Regions from separate parts of the Homo sapiens genome. Here all the other regions are linked to region 2. Evidence: promoter capture Hi-C in 16 types of primary human blood cells and fetal thymus (Javierre and others, 2016). All regions are on one chromosome and are shown on one strand. The core of a region is centred on a gene start or on the middle of the fragment in contact, and the rest is flanking DNA. Distances in the headings are between cores, read along the strand shown.

The links. Contacts are between HindIII fragments. The CHiCAGO score rates a contact against its expected background, and 5 or more counts as called.
Region 1: a contact is called between a fragment that was not itself captured here and the fragment with the promoter of EPB41L4A-AS1 in region 2, in 10 of 17 cell types (monocytes, naive B cells, megakaryocytes and 7 more). The highest score is 11.2, in monocytes.
Region 3: a contact is called between a fragment that was not itself captured here and the fragment with the promoter of EPB41L4A-AS1 in region 2, in 1 of 17 cell types (total CD8 T cells). The highest score is 5.1, in total CD8 T cells.
Region 4: a contact is called between a fragment that was not itself captured here and the fragment with the promoter of EPB41L4A-AS1 in region 2, in 1 of 17 cell types (total B cells). The highest score is 6.3, in total B cells.

The regions. Positions count from the first base shown.
Region 1 is chr5:111,558,543-111,562,127 of GRCh38, reverse strand. All of the region lies in intron 1 of STARD4-AS1 (STARD4 antisense RNA 1), which reads right to left. Among named protein-coding and RNA genes, the nearest start is that of STARD4, 48 kb to the right of the region's middle. The HindIII fragment of the contact is 4,109 bases long and covers 1-3,585 here.
Region 2 is chr5:112,159,276-112,161,775 of GRCh38, reverse strand. EPB41L4A-AS1 (EPB41L4A antisense RNA 1) reads right to left here and starts at 1,250. Exons shown (of 3, transcript NR_015370.2): 1 at 481-1,250; 2 at 1-73. SNORA13 (small nucleolar RNA, H/ACA box 13) reads right to left here and starts at 291; the gene lies at 159-291. It also overlaps a transcript of EPB41L4A not described here. RefSeq lists enhancers at 446-495, 606-655, 676-775, 551-1,283, 1,156-1,365 and 1 more. The HindIII fragment of the contact is 7,805 bases long and covers 1-2,500 here.
Region 3 is chr5:112,706,809-112,710,113 of GRCh38, reverse strand. It overlaps a transcript of APC not described here. Among named protein-coding and RNA genes, the nearest start is that of APC, 29 kb to the left of the region's middle. RefSeq lists an enhancer at 2,577-2,636. The HindIII fragment of the contact is 810 bases long and covers 1,383-2,192 here.
Region 4 is chr5:112,736,406-112,739,787 of GRCh38, reverse strand. It overlaps APC (APC regulator of Wnt signaling pathway), which reads right to left and starts at 1,903. Exons shown (of 16, transcript NM_000038.6): 1 at 1,863-1,903. The HindIII fragment of the contact is 1,642 bases long and covers 843-2,484 here.

The sequences.
Region 1 (3,585 bases), core at 744-3,243, 600 kb after region 2:
AACATAAATGAAGAAATATAATTAACCTTATGTGTACAAAGTCTTTTGAGGGAAATTAGGAGAAAGTGTGGCCACATGAAGACAATGTAGGTAAATGTTGTGAGCACTAAAGCATGCCTTTTAGACTGTCAGGTTTTCAGGCAGCCTTATTCAAATACCTGAGTTTGTACTCCCCAAATAAGTTAAACTTTTCATGCCTCTGAGCCCTAATAGGGGAAGTTAAGGACTGTAAATAAGCAGTAATGTTTTTTCTTTGTTTTGCTTTGTGTTAATGTTTGTTTTGCCCAATATTGCCTCTGTGATGGTTCAGTCTGTCCAGTAGAAAAGAAAGCATCTTATAGTTTCCTCCCATTGAACTCATGGTTCTACTGCGCCTTCTGCCCAGAAAAAACTTCCCCTCTAACCTGTTTTGTTTTGTTTTTGTTTTTTCAAATCTAATGACCCTGTGAAGGACAGATCAAGTCCTACCTCTTCTTGAAGCCATCTATAACCATACCAGACAACCGTGTTTTGTTTTGTCTTTGAATTCTTACATTGCTCATTGTCCATCCCACTCTTCTGGCATTGCTTGATTATATAAAGCAAATGCCTAGGCTCATGAAAATTTACCTGAGGATACAGATTAGCAGAAAACTTCATCTAGTATTGTTCTCTATCAGAATGTAATTCCTTAGTCATTTACATTTAATATTTTAATAATATATTAGTTCTAGAATTAAAAATTACTTCATTTTAAGAGGATACTGGGACGATGCAGAGGGGGAAGCACAAGGATTCTATCTTCCCTTGTAGACAACAATTGAACTGGCAGACTCTGTCTGATGTAACTGTTTTGGAACTCTGGAGTCTATCGAAGACTTGAAATTTCCAGGGGAGGGCATGGATGAAAAACTGTAGTCAATTGCAGCTTTTAGCACATTGGCAGCTGTCCATCCCCCACCTCTTAGCCTCATGGCAAGAAGTTGTTTTGTGTTCCTGGAGCAGCATGTAAAGAGTTACCAGGAGCCAGGGTGGGCGTAAAAGGACCCTGTCCTACAAATATCAAGGATATTTCATCACTTATTGCTGCTTCTGATCACAGAGTGGTGAACAAAGAGGTGGAATTTAAAGGGCTGATGCCCTTCCCCCTCTTTATTTTTCTCTTTTTTTCCTTTTGGGAGCCAGACGTTAAAGAATAGGGCATCCAAAAATAACTGCATATATGGGAAAAATTAGCAAGTGACTTCACATGCCCAGAGAAAGGCTCAGAAAAGACATGAGAAGACCTTAAATTTACATCTCAGGCTGATCCTCAGCCCAGAGACAGCCTACAATTTTTAAAAAGCAGTAACAATAACTCAAACCTGGGAAAGAGAAAAACTGATTCTCAGAATTACCAGAATATTAGATTCAAATGTCCAGCTTTTAACAACAAAAAAAACTATAAAACACACAAAGAAACAGGAAACTATTGACCATTCAAAGAGCAACAAATAAGCAACAGAAGCTGCTCCTGAAAGAGAACTACTAGATAAAGACTTTAAAACAATTGTCTTGAAGATGAGCAAGGAACCAAAGGGAGATGTGGAGAAAGTCAAGAAATGAAGTATAAACAAAAGGGAAATATTAATAAACATATACAAAACCTAGAAAGAAACCAAAAAGAAAATTTGAAGCTGAGAAGTACACTAACTAAAATGCAAAATTTGGCAGAGGGATTCAAAGGCAGATTTGATCAGACAGAAGAAAGAAGCAGTAAACTTGAAGAGGACAATGGAAATTATCAAGCCTGAGGAACAGAAAGAAAAAAGATTGAAGAAAAGTGAAGAATCCTCAGGGATCTGTGGGACGCCATCAAACAGACCAACATATACATTGTGTGAGTTCCAGAGGGAGGAAAGAGAGAGAGAAGGGGGCAGAAAGAATATTTGAGGAAGCAATGGCTAATAACTTCCTGAATATGTTGATGTTAATATAAACATCCAAGAAGCTCAATGATGAACTCAAAGAAACTCACACCAAGACACACTATAAACAAACTTACAAAGGACAATGAGAGAGTTTTGAAAGTGACAGAGAAAGGTGGCTAGTCACAAAAAGGGGATCATGAATAAGATTTTCAGAAAATTTCTCATCAGAAACTCTGGAGGCTAGAAGATAGTGGGTCATATAGTCAAAGTGCTAAAAGAAAAAAAAAATCTCTCTGCTAAGAATCCTATTTCTGGCAAAACTGTTGTCCAAAAATGAGGGAAAAATTAAGACATTCCTAGACAAACTAAAGCTGAGAGAATTTATTACCACTAGACCTTCTCTGTAAAAAAAGAAAATGATCAAGGGAGTCCTGCAGGATAAAATAAAAGAACAATGGATGGTAATTCAAAGTCATGTGAAGAAATAAATATCTCAATGAAAGTAAATATGTGAGCAATTAGAAAAGCTAGTATTGTAACAACAGTTTGTAGTTCCACTTTTTTTTACACCATGATTAAAGAGACAAAGCCATTAAAATCAGTTTAAAAATGAGTATTATGGTAACTTCAGTTTCTAATTCCACATTTTGTTTTCTACACAATTTCAGAGACTAATACATTTTTAAAAAACTATTAGTTTATGTTTTGGGGCACACAGTGTATAAAGATGTAATTCTGTGACATCAGCAACTTAAAGAGGTGAGGACAGAGTTGTAAACAAGCAGAGTTTTTATACGTAACTGAAGTTAAAATGGTATAAATTCAAATTAAAGCATATTCACTTTAAGATGTTAAATGTAATCTCCATGGTATGGGAATTTAGACATGAGAAAAATTTAAACACTTCACTATAATATAATAATAAATAGTGAAATATAGAATAATAAAAATAAAATATAAAATAAAAAATAGTGAAATAATAGAAGTCTCTTCTTATCAGTAATCACTCTAAATGTAAATGTACTAAACTTTCCAATAAAAAGACAGCAGTATGGATGAAAACATGTGATCCAACTAAGTGCTGTCTATAAGAAACTCACTTTAGATCCAAAGATACAAATAAAGTGAAAGGATGGAAAATGATATTCTATGGAAATAGTAACAAAAAGAGAGCAGAAGTGGCTACACTAATATCAGACAAAATACACTTTCAATCAAAAAAGATTACAAAACACTGAGAAGGAAATTATATATTCACAAAAATATTAATGCAGTGAGAAGATATAATAATAAAAATTATTTATGCACCTAATAACTACCAAAGTATAGGAAGCAAAAACTGACATAATTGAAGGCAGAAACAGACTGTTCTACAATAATAACTGGAGACTTTATTATGCCACTCTAAATAATGACTAGAACAACCAGATAGAAGACGAGTAAGGAAACAGCAGACTTAACATAATAATAGATATATACAGAATATTTTACCCAACAAAAACAGCACACGTTTCTCCAATGCACATGGGACATTTTAGAGGATACACTGTATGTTTTACCACAGATTAAGTTTCATTAGGCTTTAAAAGGCAAGTATCATACAAAGCATCTTCTCTAACCACAATAGGTTAAAGTTAGAAATCAATAACACCAGTACAATTTTTTTAAGTTACAAATTTGTGGAAATTAAATGATG
Region 2 (2,500 bases), core at 1-2,500:
CTTCAGGTCACCTTTATGCTCCCAGATGGTATTCAGCTAGCAGCAGTCTACACTTCAGGCATCCATCTTCCACCTGAACAAAAATTAGAACTGGCTAAGAGAAACCATACACTTAAGGCTAGCAGGGTCAAGATCACGCGTGGAAACGTAAAAGCAGCAACTGTTACTTATGCAGCTCCTACACCAAAGGTATCAAATTTAAGGGCAGGAAAAGGCTGCAAAGCGTTTAATTTACGCCTTTTTTGACACCACATTCACTAGTTTCCAAAGTGAATGGGCAACACAAAGGCTGACACTGCGTGAGGTAGGCTTTATGGCATAAGGTTGCTGACTGGCTGACAGTAATGCCGATTACAGCCTAAAAACGGACAATACATTTCAGAGAAATTTTCTCACGATTTAAAATCCGACTTAATAATGAAAAGTGAAATGCGATGCGTTTTAAATGGCGACTGGTCTTGCACGAACGTGAAAACTCACCTGTAGGGTAGGTGATCACTCCCGACGAGCACCGCACGTGGAAACAGCTGTAACCAGGCACGCTGCTTTTAAGTTATTTTATACGGGGGCAGGGCAAGCATAAAGTCAGTTATACGGTAAGGCCTTTTCACTGACGAAAATAAAACCAGGCTTATCTGGAGAACTCCCTGGCATAGTCGATGATGTAAACACAAATCGACGAAGCTCCCCGTTTCCAAACGTGGGAACGCAGGCCTGAGGCCAGGCCGCTGCCCTTGTTCACGGCCCCGGACACTTCGGACACAGGCCGCCGCAGTCGACTCACCAGACTCAGGGTGGCCGCGTTCCCCCGCCCGGCGCCCCTGCGTGAGAGACCACGCGGCCACAGCCAGGCGCCATCCCAGAGGACCCAGAGCAAAAACCACAGCAAGCTCGCACCAAAAGGAAGAAAGGACAGGCTTCCGTCCCACAATGCTTTTCTACAAGTGGAAGGACCCACTGTCCGAGAGCGCGAGGGGGGAGCGGGCTGTACCATCGGCCGCTGCGCTATGGCGAGACGCCGCCGTGTGGCCGGAGGGAGAAGTGCCAGTGAGGGACCGAGGGGCGTGTCACCAAAGGGAGGAGGAGCCTGGGTTCTCAGCCCGAGTCACCTCTGCGGATGTGTGGCCAGTTCTTTCCACAGAGGAGGTATCCAGACATCCCCCCACCCGACCAGGGTCAAGAGCATATGATCAGTGCTGGCAGCGGCAGGAGCCCAAAGGACTTTAGACCACGTATTTTGGGACCCGACAGAATTCATGAGTCCAGCTGAGGAAGAGTAGAGTCATTCATTCGAAAGATATTTAGTCAGCACTTACTATGCTCCAGGCCCTGGCCTGAGTGCCTGGGAATCAGGTGTGGGTGAGCCAGGCAAGGTTTCTGTGGTACATTCTGCTTGGGTGAGTAGGCCACTGACCAAGTGAGCCCGGATGCTGAAATTCTACAATGTAAGTGCCAGGAGGGCAGCAAAAGAGGGTCATGCCATAGGGTAGCGCTGTCCGATGGAAACAGTGTGAGCCATGAGTGTAATTTTAAATTTTCCAATTGCCACATAAAATGTGAAAAGAACGCCGGGCGCGGTGGCTCATGCCTGTAATCCCAGCACTTTGGCAGGCTGAGGCAGGTGATCACCTGAAGTCAGGAGTTCAAGACCAGCCTGGCCAACATGGCAAAACCCCGTCTCTACTAAAAATACAAAAATTACTTGGGCTTGGTGGCGGGCGTCTATAATCCCAGCTACTTGGGAGGCTGAGGCAGGAGAAATGGCTTGAACCCGGGCGGGGTGGGGGTGGAGGTTGCGGTGAGCCGAGATCATGCCACTTGACTCCAGCCTGGACAAAAGGGCGAAACTCCGTCTCAAAAAAAAAAAAAAAAAAGTAAAAAGAAACAGATCAAATTAATTTTAATAATAACCCAACATATTTTAAATATTTCAACAGGCAATCAATATGAGATTATTAATAAGATATTTCTTTTATATCTACTAAGTCATAAAAATCCGGTGTATATTTTATACTTCCAGCACATTTCCGTTCAGACTAGACACATTTCAAGTGTTCAGTAGCTCATGGGGCTAGGAATAGGAAGACTGGAAGTGAACTCCGAGCAGATGTGTGAAGGCGGTTATGCAAGATCTGGAGACAGCAGGCCTTGGCCAGTGTGGCTGGAGTCGAGTAAGGAGTGTAGAGTGACAAGATGCAGCTGGAGAGCCAGGCAGGAGCAAGGCACTTAGGGTCTTGTCACACAGGGCAAGGTGTTGGGATTTTATGCTGAAATCTTAGAGTTGATTAATTATCACCACAAAAATTAAGCAGAGTTTGTTAATTGGCTTTTTTCCTGATAACCATAACTCCTTGAAGGGACAGGACAAGTGGCAGCAAGACAAGTTGTATGATAACAACTAGGTCTCCATGTTTCTCTAAGTCCTAGCAGAGATTCATCCAGAGACCAGTTTTAGCACCTTTCGTTGTTTCTTTGAAGCCTACTTCTATAAAAGAAAGAA
Region 3 (3,305 bases), core at 538-3,037, 550 kb before region 2:
GTGAAGCATTCTAGGCCATCAATAGGAGCTTAGTAAAAGCTGATGATCATGGGATCCTGGTTACACAGGGAGGCAAATGAAATCAGCATTAGGGTAATGGGTTGGAAGAACAGGGAGACAAAGAAGGTTCACAAAGAGAAAGAGAGAGAGAAAGGAAAAAATACCAAATTCCATAAGAGTGGAAGAGTGAGAGGGTTTGTTTGTTTGTTAGGAGACAGGGTCTTACTGTCACCCAGACTGGAGTGCAATGGCACAATCTTGGCTCACTGCAACCTCCACATCCCGGGCTCCAACAATCCTCCTGCCTCAGCCTCCCAAGTAGCTGGAATCACAGGCATGCACCACCATGCCTGGCTTATTTTTGTATTTTTTTTTGTACAGATGAGGCTTTGCCATGTTGCCTAGGCTGGTCTCGAACTCCTGGACTCATGCGATCCATGCGCTTTGGCCTCTCCCAAAGTGCTGGAATTACAGGCATGAGCCACCACACCCTGCCAAAGTGAGAGGTTTTAAAGAGTTTGTGGTCAGATGTTTTTTGATACAGAGCTACAAATCATTTTGCCAGAAGCAGTGAGCCACTGATTGGGGCTCAGCAACCCCTGCTTTGCTACTGCCCCTTCAAACTGTATGCAGAGAATTCAGAGACAACCAGCTCTAAAAACACACAGGCTCTGGTTCCAGAAAAGTGAAGGCTAGCAACGAATGAACTAGCCCATACAAGAAGCAAACATAAAAATATTCCTCCTTCTTTTAAGCTGAACAATTCTATCTCTAAATTTTAAAAATGCATTAAAAGGTCAAAAGTCCACAGTAAAGGGAAAAATAGATTATGTGTTATGAGACAGAATGAAAAGTAAACAAATCTGCCAGGCTATTTATAACCCACACGTTAAAAATTTTTAACATACAATTCTAATACAGCAGGCATAGTTTGTGCTTAACAACTTTGGAGAACATCTAGCATAACTTCAAGAAAACGATATTGCTCAATTTAATGTTAATAAAAAAGGTCCACCCATTTGCAATTTCAAAGGGCAAGCTATCATTTATATTTTTAATCTCACTTCTACAATTTTGGGGCTCTTGACACGTTATCCAACCCTTCCATCCAGGGAAAGATGGAAAAATTAGCCATGGCAACTTCCTCCACTACCGCTTTGATCCCACATTTTGCACTTAGACTCTGGCAAGGTACTACGTTATTTAGGACAGTTTTTTACACCAGTAATTCTGACTACCCTTGCTCCACTAATAAAGGAGGGAGTACTGAGACTGGCACAAGACTAAATCATATAGAAAATATCAAGTACTCCTAAGGAGGGTTGAACAGTAACAACAATCGAGAATACAAGCAATTTAAGAAGTTTTGAACTTAAAAAGCTTTTCTCCATTTTAGTCCTTTCTAAATAGAAACAAAGGGCTTGTACAACATGGAATTCTAAGACGTCAGTAGGCAATTTAAGCTAACACTGAATAAAAGAATAAATCACTTATCCTTGCTTGTACCATTAAGTGATGTCTTACATGTACTGCATAAGGTCTTCTTTTTTAAAACGAATATAACAGTTTCCAATTCTTTCACTAGATCTAGAAAGCTCACGCCCCCACCTCAACAGTTCAGAGACCAAAGATTTCCTACAGCCGAAAAAAATGAATGATTTAGATGAACAATCATTTGCCAACAGAGGCACCATTCCTCTACTTGGTGGGTCAAGGAGTCAGACTCTGACCTAACCATCCAAGGCTCCTGGGGACTTGATTCTCCCATCAAAGTGAACAAAATTCACCGGCCTTTGGATAACAGCCCTTTCTTTGTAACTCCACATGCCGGGCTATCAGGTATTTTCCCAGGCAGAGAGTTTAAAACTTTTAGAGGAAGCAAGAGGGTCCAAACGAGGAAGATGGGGAAGCGACTAAAATGGGAAGGGCGGACGACCCACCCACCTAACGCGAATGGGGCACCACTTGCAGGGGCGAAGCTCCAGCAGCAGCCAGGAAAGGTGGAGGACGGCGGGCGTCGCGACCCCCATCCACTGCGTGAGAATGGAGGACCTGCAAAGCCAGGGGCCAACTGGAGGCCTGAATGGGGAGTGCGGGGAGGGGAGAGGGTGAGACATGGAGAGAAGAGAGCCACAGAGTCGGGCCGAGCACCGTAGGGTCCCGAGCAGCGGCGGGGCAAAGCCGAGGAAGCTTTGCCGGGAGGAGACGTCAATGCCTGCAGCCTCACTCACCTGCCAGACGCTCGCCCAGTGGCCAGAAGTACGAGCGCCGCCCGGGCTCTTCGTCTCCTGCCGGACGCAGCTCCTGCTGCCGCCGGTGCTCCAGGACCCGAGAACTGAGGGTGGTACAGAAGCGGGCAAAGGGGCGACCGGACCCGAGCCCAGGGAGGCGTACATAGGGGGCGCCGAGGCCCGAGAAGGCAACTGAGTGCTTCACCTTCCTCACCAACAGCCAACAACAGTACCTGGGAACAGCATCGAGCCAACCTCGGTCCGCAGCTCCCGGGCCTGAGCCCGCAGGTCCCCCCCGAGCAGCGGCTAGGCTTCCGGCGGCCACACCCCGCCCCCTTGCTACTTGCCCTCCGCCATCTTGTGGGAGGTGGGAAGACTACAATGCGCATGCGTGAGAGGTGTTGCTGGCTTCCCACAGCCCGGAGACTAGAGCCTGTTATGCGCAGGCGCAATGGGTGCTGCGCTCCGCTTGCCGGGCACTGCTTCGCTGTTCTGTCCCGTGAGCCATTGCTGCCTAGGCAGCCGAGTCTCAGTTGCAGCACTTACTGGCCTTCTCTGAATTGTGCTGCAGCCCAGTTAATAGATCCTTCTGCACACACTAGTCCATTATTCCGCAAACATCTATCGAGTGCTCACTATTTGCTACTCCCCGTACTAGACGCTGATGATAGAAAGATGAATAAAATTCTGTCCCAGCCCCACAAGGGCTCATAAGATAGCGGAGAAACGGAGATGAGCAAGTTATTATTTTGTAGCTGCGACCTCTGCTTCCCTACCACCTCTCACTACCACCCTGTAGTTTTAATTTAAAAACACCTCTTCCGGGAAATCCTTGTTTGTCTCACACAGTTTGATAAGTTCTTTACCTTGGATTACCTCTTCAGTTTCATTTCATTCAACATTAATTGAACAATATCATTTGGGTTTCCGATATATACTAGATACTGTTTCAGGCTCTAGATTTACAGCAATAGGAAATACAATAAACTCACGGAACTTACATTCTAGTGTGAAAGAATAGACAATAAAAGACAGTCAACAAAAGAATGTTTGATGGTGATAAGGGATAGGAAG
Region 4 (3,382 bases), core at 414-2,913, 580 kb before region 2:
TCATTTGGAATTTTAATGTGACATCTTTAGTTCTAGCCATAGTTTCCATCAGATTTTAAAAAAGAGACTCTAAGTACTTTTTTTTGAGATAGGGTCTTGCTTGGTTGCCCAGGCTGGTCTTGAACGCCAAGGCTCAAGTGATCCTCCTGCCTCAGCTTCCCTCAGCCTCCTGTTTAGCTTGTATTACAGGCATGGGCCACCACGCCCGGCTCCTAAGTACTATTAACCCTGATATCCATGATCAAGTAATTCTTAAAGCAGAAATAATTTTTTAAAGAACTATTTAAATTTATCAGTGAAAAACTTATGTAGTCTTATTTATCTAAGCCAGCCCAATTCCGCATTATCTTGAAAATATTACTGAAACAATATAATAGGTCATCTTAAGACTTTCTATTACATAAACATTATTTAAGAGACACTGTCACTGACCCTGGAGGGCTTTACAAAGCCACTGCCATCCTTGTTCAGGGAGTGGGGAGGTGTGGCAGGCTGGCTACTATAAGTATGCATAAAGATAGGCTTTTACATTTAGGTAAAGGAAAAAAAAGCTCAATGAAAAACACTTTATATCAAGAGTATATCTCATGAGTACTCACTAAACAGAAATACATCTAGAAGAAAAGCCATGTTGCTTTAATTTAAAATATTTGCACACTGAATTAATATCTTAAATATTTATTCAGTGTTATCTAAAAGCAACCAAAGAGAAATATAAAATTACTTAACTATAGGTCTTAAATATTAGGCCTACAAAAATTTGTTCACCATAATTTTTGACAAAGTAATTTACGTTGTAAAGTGGTTTGCTCTTGAATGACCTAATTAATGGCATAAAAGCTTCACTAACAAAAGAAAAGATCCACTGTTTCATACATAATTTATTAAGATTTCGTATAGGATTTATGTTAAATCAAAGAATTTGAGCATCACTTTCGTGATGTAGAATCAAAGTGTCCAATACATTCCAATGACAAAACATTCATAGCCTGACATTATTCCTACTTTAAAAAACAGTAATTTTTTTTCTGCTGTTCAGGCTGCATTTATAAACTATGGCTTCTTGTAAATGGGCTTCTACCCCAGCATTTGCTGCAAGGTTTCTTATTCCTCTGCAGTTGTCTTTTCGGCCTAACAGAGGGAGAAAAAGCACTGCTGCAGTCGTCCGCAAAAAGCCACTACCACTGCATTTTGTAACTAACAAAGACACTGGTATCTGTTTGCCACCCTGTTCACAGGGAGTTTACTTAGATGTTTTACAAAAGCAGGCACACTACTGGTGACCAGTATTTCACCAACCAACACCACCACTCACGCTCTGCAGTACCTGCCTCCTCCTCTTTCTCTCATCCCCAGTAGCTCTTTCCACTAGATTCACATCAGCCATCTGCAGCGGTTTTGTCTCCTCTCTCTTTTGGCCACCAATGCATGTGTCCTTGTCGCCAGGGAGGAAAAGAAGCCTTTCAATGGGGTAGAGCTTTTGCTCCTCGCCATGAATATGCTCCATTCTTTGTTGTCCTCTACCCGTTTCCTTAGATACTGTTATTCCACTCTGTCAAATGGCATTATAAAAACAAAAACCCCTTCTGGCTTCAAAAACAGCTTTTCTCAGCAGACTCCCCTTAACACTTCTACCCCTCCCCCTTCTTCCTCTTCTGTCAAAAACCCTGGATCCGAAGTACAGGAAATCCATCTCCAGTGCTGCAGTGGGGGGCGGGGGGACGACGCCCCTGCCTCCTCGTTTGGCATGCTGCAGTGGACCCTGTGCCAAGGAAAGGCCATCGGTTTAAGACAGTGCGAGGGAAAACCACCTTCCCCCCTCCCCCCGCAGCAAGCCTGGCCATGGTGGCTCCAGCACCTACCCCATTTCCGAGTCCGGCAGCACCTCCATTCTGTCTCCAGTGACACCCTGGCGGGCTGCACCAATACAGCCACATGTCGGTCACGTGCGCCCACACCCAGCCAATCGGCGGGCTCCCGACGGGAATGGGGAGCGCCCTGGTCCGCATCCAGCGGATTACACAGCTGCTTCTCTCTCCGCTTCCCGACCCGCACTCCGCAGTGGGGCACAGGGCCCCGCCCAACCGCACAGCCTGCCTAGCCCTAGCCCCGTACCCCTCGGGGGTATGCCCTCGCGGCCCCAGTCCCCAGCAAGCAAGGAAGTTGATGGCAGTTGACACGCATAGTAAAGAGTCGGGGGAGGTCCGCAGGGCAGAAGGATTAGCACAAGATGCCGGAGGTGGGAGGGAGAGTAATAAATTACATCTCGATTGCTATGATTTTTGCAGCACAGAGAAACAATAATATTAAATGAATTACAATGAATAATTTTACATTACAAGTCACTGAGTTGTCAGAGTGATGACTTGTTAGATAGATCACTCGAATTATATTTGAATTAAAAATAGTTACCAGAAAAGCTATGCTAGCAGCTTAGTAGTGGAGATCAGAACTCTGGAAGTCTGGGTTGCCTGAGTTGAAGCTTTACTCCTGTCACTCTAGCTCTGTAACTTTAGTTACTTAACCTCTCAGTGTTTCAATTTCCTGCTGTATAAAACGGGAACAGAAGTACAGAATAGAGGAGTTAATATATATGAAGTATTTAGAGCAGTCCCTGACACATACATAGAAGTGCTGTTAGCTACTACAAATCTGAGGCTTTAATGTAGTATTTTAATGCAAATTCTACATTGCATTTAAATCGAACCAGGTGATGCTTAAATTCCCAATTTTATGAGGTTGAAGGACAAAATCCAAACTGTCAAGAATATATAAAGTTAAACTTAAATTCTGGTTTAAATGGGGGGAAACCAGTTTCTATTATCTATTTAAAATTTAAAAGGATACTATACTTCAAGTTTTCTTTGTTTGTTTTTTGAGATAGAGTCTTGCTCTGTCACCAGGCGAGTGCAGTGGTGCAATCTCCGCTCACTGCAACCTCCACCTCCCGGGTTCAAGCGATTCTCCTGCCTCAGCCTCCCAAGTAGCTGGGACTACAGGCACGTGCCATCATGCCCAGCTAAGTTTTGTATTTTTAGTAGAGACGGGGTTTCACCATGCTGGCCAGGATGGTCTCAATCTCCTGACCTTGTGATCCGCCCACCTCGGTCCCTCCAAGTACTGGGATTACATGCGTGAGCCACTGTGCCCGGCCTAAACTTAAAGTTTTTAAATGAAGCATATTATAATCGTTTCTTAATTTTCAAATAGTATGAAAAGAAGCAAGCTATTAAATAGCATATTTGAGGCAATTCCATTTGATTAAAAAATGTATATATTAGAAAAGCAATAGACACACAACAAAATGTCCATAGAGGTTATTCCTGGAAAGTGAGATTATGGAGCTATTTCTGCTGTCCTTTCGTGCTTTGTTTTTTTTCTC